Linked DNA regions of Homo sapiens: regions 1 and 2 are each linked to region 3. Evidence: promoter capture Hi-C in 16 types of primary human blood cells and fetal thymus (Javierre and others, 2016). All regions are on one chromosome and are shown on one strand. Each heading gives the region's core, a stretch centred on a gene start or on the middle of the fragment in contact. The rest is flanking DNA. Distances are from core to core; before and after follow the strand shown. Region 1 holds the start of CAMK2N2 (calcium/calmodulin dependent protein kinase II inhibitor 2). Region 2 holds the start of EIF4G1 (eukaryotic translation initiation factor 4 gamma 1). Region 3 holds the start of KLHL6-AS1 (KLHL6 antisense RNA 1).

Region 1 (2,700 bases), core at 123-2,622, 710 kb after region 3:
CCCCATCCCCTTCAGCACGTCGTCTATCCGGTCATCCTCGATCACCACTGCGCAGGGAGAAAGCGCGTCAGCCGCGCGGCCTCGGGGGGCGGCGGCGATGAGAATGAGCCCCGCGTCCTAGCTTCCCGCGCAGCTACTGCCCGTGGCCCAGCGACGCCCCTCGGAACCCTGTGCCGCGGTGTCCTCCCCGTCCGAACTCTTCTGGAGACCCAACCCGCCGCCAAGCCTAGACCCCCTCCCCTCCCGATGGCGGAACGCCCCTCTTCCAAAGGCTCCAGCTATTCTCCCTCCCAGTGCGAGCCCTCCTGCCACCTGAGCCTTCCTCCCTCTGAGTTGATCAGAAACCTCTTGCTCACGGAATCCCCCTCTTCAACCCGCACTTCAACAGATCCCCCTGCTCAAATGGGGCTCAAACCGAGTATCCAGCTGGTCCAGCCCTCTCCTCAACCTGAGCCCTCTCGCCGCTGGAACCCCTCTTCCGATCCTGGCACCAACAGAGCTCCCCTCCCCATGCAAACAACCAAGACAAGCGGACCCCCGGCCTCCTGCCCTCTCTTGTTAGACGTCCCTCTCGACCCGAAGGTTCTTCGTATTGTCCACCGACTCAGTATTTGATCCCAAAGAATCAGCCCGTTACCCCGTGCTCCCACTTCCGTGCAGCCCCAAATGCCCCGACCGGCCCCTCCCCCTCGCCCGGGTGCCAGGGCTCTGCTTCCAGAGGTGGCGAGCATCGAATCCGGGGCACCGTGTTCCCGGGAGAAGGGAAGAGGGGGACACACACTGCAGCGGGGACCCCCCCCTCCAGCCCGGGCTGGAGAGCGGCTGGTGCGCTGGTCTGCGGCAAGAGCTGCGGGCACTCGGCGGGGAACGGCAGCCGGGGGGCGCCCGGCGGAGGGTTTCTGGGTCAGGCGGCGACTCCGGGCCCGGGCCGCGTACCTCGCTTGGCTCGGCCGATCTGGCCCAGCTTGGGGGGTCGCTTGGCCTGGTTGCCCGCGAAGAAGGAGTTGGTGTCCTGCAGGCGGCAGCTGAAGGAGAGGTCGGAGCCCTCGGGGTCTGCGCCGAAGCGGCCCATCTTGTCTTCGCTGTAGGGCAGGATCTCGGACATGGCGGGCGCGGGGTGGGCGCGGGGCGGGAGCGGGACTGCGGCGGGGCGCGGGCGGCGGGCTTGCTGCCGGACCGGCCCTACCTCAGCAGGGGAGCCGGCGGAAGGATGAAGTCATGCAGCATCCGGGGCTGAGGAGCCAAGCGGGGCCTCCTCCCCCGCGCCTCCGCCTCCCGGGCCGCTGGGCAGGCGGCGGCGGCGGCGGTGGCGGGGACCGGGCGGGGGCGGGGGCGGGGGGCGGGGGTGGCGGCGGCGGCGGCAAGAGCGGAATGACGATGAGCGCCCGACTGCGGCAGAGCACGGCGGGCGGGGCGCGGTGGAGGCGGGGCGGGCACTGGCCAGGGGAAAGAGGCGGGGCCGGGGGCAGGAGCGCGCCCAGCTACCCCGGGAACAGAGGCAGCTGGAGTGGGAGGTTCCCGCACTGTGGCGGGGAATGGCCAGCACGTGGGTCTTGGGGAATAGTACCAGCCAACCCGGCCGGGACCTCGCGGGGAGGGGCGGGACCGAAGGGGGGTGGGATCGAGCCTGGTACTGGAGGAGCTTGGAGGAGGGTCTGACCCCTAGGCTGGGAGAGGCGTGCAAGGGGGACTGGGAGCAGGAGGGCAAAAGCTGGCCGGGCGCGTTGGGGCGGGAAGGCGGCCGCAGGGCTGGCAATGGAAAGCGGGGAGCGGGAAATGCGCGGGGAGGAGACTCGGGTACAGGGTGACTGGGGAAGGCACGAACCCACAGCGCGGGAAGAGCTCGGGCCAGTGGGATGGTGCCCTTGCCGCTGACGCGCTCTTGTACTAGTTGCTCTGCTGGTCTTAAGTAGATCGTCAGGGTCCGTGCGCCTCTGAGTGCCGGTCTGTGTCTCTGTCTCCGCCTTTGTGTGTGTCAGTCCATCTCTAAGTGTCTGTATCTCTCTGTCTCTGTGCCCCGTATCTCTTTCGCTGTGTTATGGCCTTTGTCTATGCCTGTCCCTTAAGTGTCTGCCTTTCTCTATCTATCTCCATTCTTGACTCCTGTATCTCTGTGCCAGTGTCTCCGTCTCCTGAATCTGGGTATTTCAGTCTCTCCTAGGAGGGGTCTATAGAAACTGGGCCGACGCGCGCGCACCAGGGCAGACACCCCCAGCCCTAGTCCGGTGGCTGTAGCCCCCCGCGGCTCTGGAGTGGTGCGCTCGCAGTGTAGGAGGAATGAATGGCGGCGTCGCGGGGGGCGCCCTGGGCTGCGGGTGACGCGGGGAAGCTCGGAGCACCTGAGGACGCGGAGCGCGCCAGTGTGTGCCCCGAGGGAGTGCGGTAGAGATGGAGGGTGCCCCCCGCCCTCGTTGCTTTGGACCACGGGTGAGTTCTCGCCTCACCGATGGGAACATGCCCTCTTCTCCCCTTGCCTCCCGCCCCCACAACCCCCGCCCTGGCTGGCCGTCACCCGCGGCGTCACCTGCTTGCCAGCGCGCAGGAGCTCTGGCGCAATCACTGGCCTTGGGGAGGAGGGGGTGTCTCACATGCGGCGACAGTGACGGCAGCGCTGAAAACGGTAATGATCACCCTGTACGTTCATTCCACACTCCAGGCGAACGCGCTTTCCTTCCTTAATCTGGCCAAATTACCAAATCA
Region 2 (2,700 bases), core at 89-2,588, 770 kb after region 3:
TCCTTTTAAACGACAAATCTCATACTACTTGCCTAGTTAGAATGTTTCTAACTTTTTAAACGACAAATCTCATACTACTTGCCTAGTTAGAATGTTTCTATCCTTTTAATTTCCTTTGTTATAGGCCTTTCAAGGACCTAATCTAAATTCTTTTCAAAGCCTGCATAATTCGTGTTGTATCACGATTTACTTAGGCAGGACTGAGTCTTTAATTTCTTTTTTTCTTTCTTTTTTTTTTTTTTTGAGATGGAGTCTCACCCTGTCGCCAGGCTAGAGTGCAGTGGCGTAATTTCGGCTCACTGCAACCTCCGCCTCCCGGGTTCAAGCAATTCTCTGCCTCTGCCTACCGAGTAGCTAGGACTACAGGCGTGCGCCACCAGGCCCAGCTAATTTTTTGTATTTTAGTAGAGACGGGGTTTCACCATGTTGGCCAGGATGGTCTAGATCTCCTGACCCCGTGATCCGCCCGCCTCGGCCTCCCAAAGTGCTGGGATTACAGGCGTGAGCCACTGCGCCCGGCCCATGATCTTTTTAAACTACAAATCTCATACTACTTGCCTAATTAGAATGTTTCTATCCTTTTAATTTCCTTTGTTATTGGCCTTTCAATGACCTAATCTAAATTATTTTCAAAGCCTGCATAATTCGTATTGTATCACGATTTACTTAGGCAGGACGGAGTCTTTAATTTCTTTCTTTTTTTTTTTTGAGATGGAGTCTCGCCCTGTCGCCAGGCTAGGCTAGAGTGCAGTGGCACAATCTCCGCTCACTGCAACCTCTGCCTCCCGGGCTCAAACAATTCTCCTGCCTCAGCCTCCCAAGTAGCTGGGACTACGGGTGCGCCACCACGCCCGGCTAATTTTTGTATTTTTAGTAAAGACGGGGTTTCACCATGTTGGCCAGGATGGTCTCGATCTCTTGACCTCGTGATCCGCCCACCTCGGCCTCCCAAAGTACTGGGATTAAGGTGTGAGCCACCGCGCCCCGCTTATTTTTTTTTTTTTTTTGCCGAGACTTTGATTTCAGTTTCTCAGCCCTCAACCAGCACTTCGCCTTGTACTTAGCATGCACTCAATAAATGGTTGCTTAAAATATGAATGAACTAAAGAATCGCGGAACAGAGAGAAACACAGAGGGGAATCGGTCTGGGAGTTTCAAAGTTCGGGAGGGGACACGGGGGCGGGCTGTGGCTGTCACGTGACGGGGCGGGGGCAAATCCCATGTGCTCGGCGGCGCAGATCGCCCGGCGCGGCTCCGCCCCCTGCGCCGGTCACGTGGGGGCGCCGGCTGCGCCTGCGGAGAAGCGGTGGCCGCCGAGCGGGATCTGTGCGGGGAGCCGGAAATGGTTGTGGACTACGTCTGTGCGGCTGCGTGGGGCTCGGCCGCGCGGACTGAAGGAGACTGAAGGTAAAGCCGCCATGTCCGGGCCCGACCCGGCCCCCCCACCCCCTCCCCCCGCATCCGCCGCCATCCGGGCCGGGACCGGCCACCCTGCGCCGCCGCCCCGGCGCCCTGGCCCCGCGGCCCGACCCAGGGCCCCGGCCCGCCAGGGTCCCGATCCCCGGCCCACGTGTGCCTGGCCCGGCCGGGCCTGGCTGCTGGGTGGGGGTGGGGAGCGCAGGGCCGGACTATGCGGGCCCCGCGGGCTGGTAGGGCGCCGGGTTCGTCGCCGCGAAATGCCACCTCGGCCTGACCCGAGGAGGCCCGGCAGCCCACGGGCGCAGGCACCACGGCTCCCGGCCCGCCGCCCCCTCCCCCCTTCGCGGCCAGGCCGCCGGGAAGTGACACGTTGTTCTTTGGCACTGGCCCGCGCTGCGCAGGGAGGGCGCAGGGGAGGGAGGCGGTGGCGGCGGGCAGGGAGGAGCCCCCGGCCCCGCCCGCCCTCCGGGCCGACCCTCACTTGCCTGAAACCGGCTCCTCGACGGCCGCCGCCCGCCTGGCCTTTTAGGGCCTGACTCCCGCCCTTCCTGGCCTACACTCCTGGGCGGCGGCAGGCCTAGCTTCTGGCCCAGTGCGGGTTCCCCGGCGGCAGGCGTATCCTGTGTGCCCCTGGGCCAGGCCCGAACCCGGTGTCCCCGGGTGGGGGGTGGGGACGCCACGGCCGAAGCAGCTAGCTCCGTTCGTGATCCGGGAGCCTGGTGCCAGCGAGACCTGGAATTTCCGGTCTGGTTGGTCTGGGGCCCCGCGGAGCCAGGTTGATACCCTCACCTCCCAACCCCAGGCCCTCGGATGCCCAGAACCTGTAGGCCGCACCGTGGACTTGTTCTTAATCGAGGGGGTGAGTGAGGGGTCTGTTTCAGTAGGTCAGGGGTTGGTTGGAAGTGATGCGGGTTTGACAGCATGTTGGTGGGGACAGGCTGTATCTTTTCTGCTTCACCCTCTTGGCATCTCTGGGACTCCGTATGGGACCCAGCCCTTGCATCAACCCTTTCACCGCCCCATTTGCCTTAAGCTTGGGTCCCTTCCTCTTCCTGAGCGCCACTCTTTCCCAACAGGTGCTGGGGGGACCCTGATGTGGCACCAAATGAAATGAACAAAGCTCCACAGTCCACAGGCCCCCCACCCGCCCCATCCCCCGGACTCCCACAGGTAATTAGGGAGGAATTAGCAGGGGTGGGGGTGGGGGAGACCAGGCAGTCTCCAGCCTCTGGATCTTCCTACCCCCATCTGTGTCAGGGCAAAGTGCAGCCGCCTGCTGCC
Region 3 (2,700 bases), core at 163-2,662:
CTAATATCCAAAGAATTCTGAATGGCAAAGCACATCTGGCTCCCAGATTTTTGGGTAAGGGATTATGGGGCTTTCTGATAATGTTAACAGTTTTCATTTTGGTGTTATTTGTCTACCTTTTCTCACATGCATATCTTTCCATAGTTTACATGCAATTTTGCATCTTGCTTTGCCCCCTGTTTTCATTATAATATTTTTCCTACGGTGCTCCATGCTTTTCATAATGACTATTTATTATATTGCTACCAATTTCAACAGAGGCATAATATGAAAATCATTCTCTCACTGTGGACATTTAGGTTGCTTCCAGTATTTTGTTTTTATACGTGACGTGGTAATCTTTGCATTAAGCATTTTTTCCCAGTTTGGAATATGGACGGCCTACATTTTTTCAGGCACTTTGCTGGATTCTTTTTATTTCATTCAGTCTTCATAATATCAAGTAGATAGCATGGTGTCCATTTCATCCTTGGGGGAGCTCACTTTGATGGGAAGAGTGGTTTCCCCATGATGTCTAAACTGAAAACAGGCCTCTTCACAGAGAACAGAAATGTGGCTAACAGGTCATTTCCTATGACCCCTCAGCTCCCCAAGACTCTTTTGCTAGTGTAGGCTACATAAGCTGAAAATGAGGAGGAAATGTAAAAATCAGAGCCTCCTTGTGCTCATACACACATGCACAGGCAGGATACTGTTGGAACATTCATTCCAGTTTATGTCTGGGGGCTGAGCTGACAGACCCCCATAGCAGCAAGGACCCAGCATGCCTTAGGACATCAGTCTGGATCAAAGGGTTAAAAAAGAGACAAGGAAGCAGGGTCAGGGTGTGCAAGGTGAAAAGACAGTGCGCTCTGAAAATATATGGGACCTCACTGTGGCTAGAACCAGAAACTGGTTCTCACCATTTGGGAAGCCCAGCTCACTGCAAAATATGGCACACTCTGTAAGTGACAGTGACCTGTGAGGGCAGCCCTGCTGTGATTCCCAGGGTTGGCAGAGGGAGGGGAGTCCTAGTGATGAGGGGAGGGGTTATCAGGCTTTTCTCTGCCCTGTCTCATGACTGGCCCTTCCTTCATGCATAGAAAAGCTTCCAGGCTGAGGCTGAGTCATTAGCAATCTCCTTTGTTGATGCTGCTGCCTGGAATCCTTGTCTGGATTCCTGTCTCACTCCTGTCTTGTACCGCAGTCTCTAGGTCTGGTTCCTTGAGGCTATGTTGAGAGGACTTTACCCGCCAGCTACAAAAATCAGGCATAAGGCCAGGAATGGGAAGGTTATTGTGAGCACAATCTATGCACTTGTTAATCATTATTACATATTAACCAATTACTGCATGGCAGAAAAGTGGGGCAAGAGACTACTCTTAAGCCACATGTAGATGTTGTAATCCTGAGCTTTGTCTCCATAATGGGGTAAGATGTCAGAAAAGAGTCAGAAAGCCCAGGTGATAGAATAAGTGCCAAGAACATATACACCATGGAATACTGTGCAGCCATAAAAAGGAATGAGTTCATGTCCTTTGCAGGGACATGGATGAAGCTGGAAACCATCATTCTCAGCAAACTAACACAGCAACAGAAAACCAAACACCGCATGTTCTCACTCATAAGTGGGAGTTGAACAATGAGAACACATGGACACAGGTAGGGGAACAACACAACCCGTGGCCTGTCGGCGGGTGGGGGACAAGGGGAGGGAGAGCATTAGGAAAAATACTTAATGCATTCAGGGCCTAAAACCTAGATGATGGGTTGATAGGTGCAGCAAACCACCATGGCACGTGTATACCTATGTAACAAACCCGCGCATTCTGCACATGTATCCCAGAACTTAAAGTAAAATTTAAACAAATTTTAAAAAAGAGAATAAGTGCCAAGAAAAACAAGAATGAGTTAAGGCCATGTAGGTCTGTATTAAAAATCTGGCTAACAGCAAATGTGTTGAGGATTGCTGCTGCCACAGTGGGTACACTTGAGAACTCAAGTGAAGCCAATGATTGTAACACCAGGGTCAGGCCCTATATTTTCCACTTTTAATATTTTCCAATATTGTGGATCAGAACCAATATGATAGTAAATATTTCAGCATTATATATCTATAATCCCTTATCTGTAGTTTCAAAATTCCCAAAGTGCTGATAAATGTAAAGTTTTTTGTAACTTATTTCATGGCTAAATCCAACTTGAATGGCACTCGTCAGGTCGGGACACCTGAGTCTTGCTCTGTTGCCCCGGCTGGAGTGCAGTGGCATGATCTTGGCTCACTGCAACCTCCGCCTCCCAGATTCAAGCAATTCTCCTGCTTCAGCCTCCCGAGTAGCTGGGACTACAGGCATGTGCCACCACGCCCAGCTAATTTTTTGTATTTTTAGTAGAGATGGGGTTTCACCATGTTAGTGCTTGACTCTTAAATAGGAACAGATATCCAAAGACTACCAGATATTTAAGTATAGCCTCTAAAATAAAAGACAGAGGCCAGGTGTGGTGGCTCATGCTTGTAATCCTAGCACTTTGGGAGGCCGGGTCAGGAGGATCCCTTGAGCCCAGGAGTTTGAAACTATCTGGGCAACATAGGGAGACCTTGTCTCTAGGAAATAAATAAATACATACATAAAATAGAATAAAAGAGACAAAAACAAAGAGAAAAATACAGTGAAAACAAACAGTAAAAAACAAACAAAAACAGAAGAGTGGTTTTTTAAA

Evidence for each region. The method cuts DNA at HindIII sites, captures the fragments that hold promoters and counts their contacts. A CHiCAGO score of 5 or more calls a contact.
Region 1: a contact is called between the fragment with the promoter of CAMK2N2 here and the fragment with the promoter of KLHL6-AS1 in region 3, in 3 of 17 cell types (erythroblasts, fetal thymus and neutrophils). The highest score is 6.3, in erythroblasts.
Region 2: a contact is called between the fragment with the promoter of EIF4G1 here and the fragment with the promoter of KLHL6-AS1 in region 3, in 12 of 17 cell types (M0 macrophages, M2 macrophages, megakaryocytes and 9 more). The highest score is 11.0, in M0 macrophages.

What each region holds. Positions count from the first base shown.
Region 1 is chr3:184,260,181-184,262,880 of GRCh38, forward strand. It overlaps CAMK2N2 (calcium/calmodulin dependent protein kinase II inhibitor 2), which reads right to left and starts at 1,373. Exons shown (of 2, transcript NM_033259.3): 1 at 937-1,373; 2 at 1-47. The coding sequence starts at 1,105. All of the region lies in intron 2 of EEF1AKMT4-ECE2 (EEF1AKMT4-ECE2 readthrough), which reads left to right. RefSeq lists enhancers at 1-27, 28-579, 2,465-2,700. The HindIII fragment of the contact is 12,942 bases long and covers 1-2,700 here.
Region 2 is chr3:184,313,268-184,315,967 of GRCh38, forward strand. It overlaps EIF4G1 (eukaryotic translation initiation factor 4 gamma 1), which reads left to right and starts at 1,339. Exons shown (of 33, transcript NM_198241.3): 1 at 1,339-1,407; 2 at 2,222-2,278; 3 at 2,496-2,589. The coding sequence starts at 2,530. RefSeq lists enhancers at 762-1,262, 1,987-2,608 and silencers at 1,090-1,419, 1,440-2,149. The HindIII fragment of the contact is 4,143 bases long and covers 1-2,450 here.
Region 3 is chr3:183,547,323-183,550,022 of GRCh38, forward strand. KLHL6-AS1 (KLHL6 antisense RNA 1) reads left to right here and starts at 1,413. Exons shown (of 2, transcript NR_046687.1): 1 at 1,413-1,641. All of the region lies in intron 1 of KLHL6 (kelch like family member 6), which reads right to left. The HindIII fragment of the contact is 1,687 bases long and covers 1,086-2,700 here.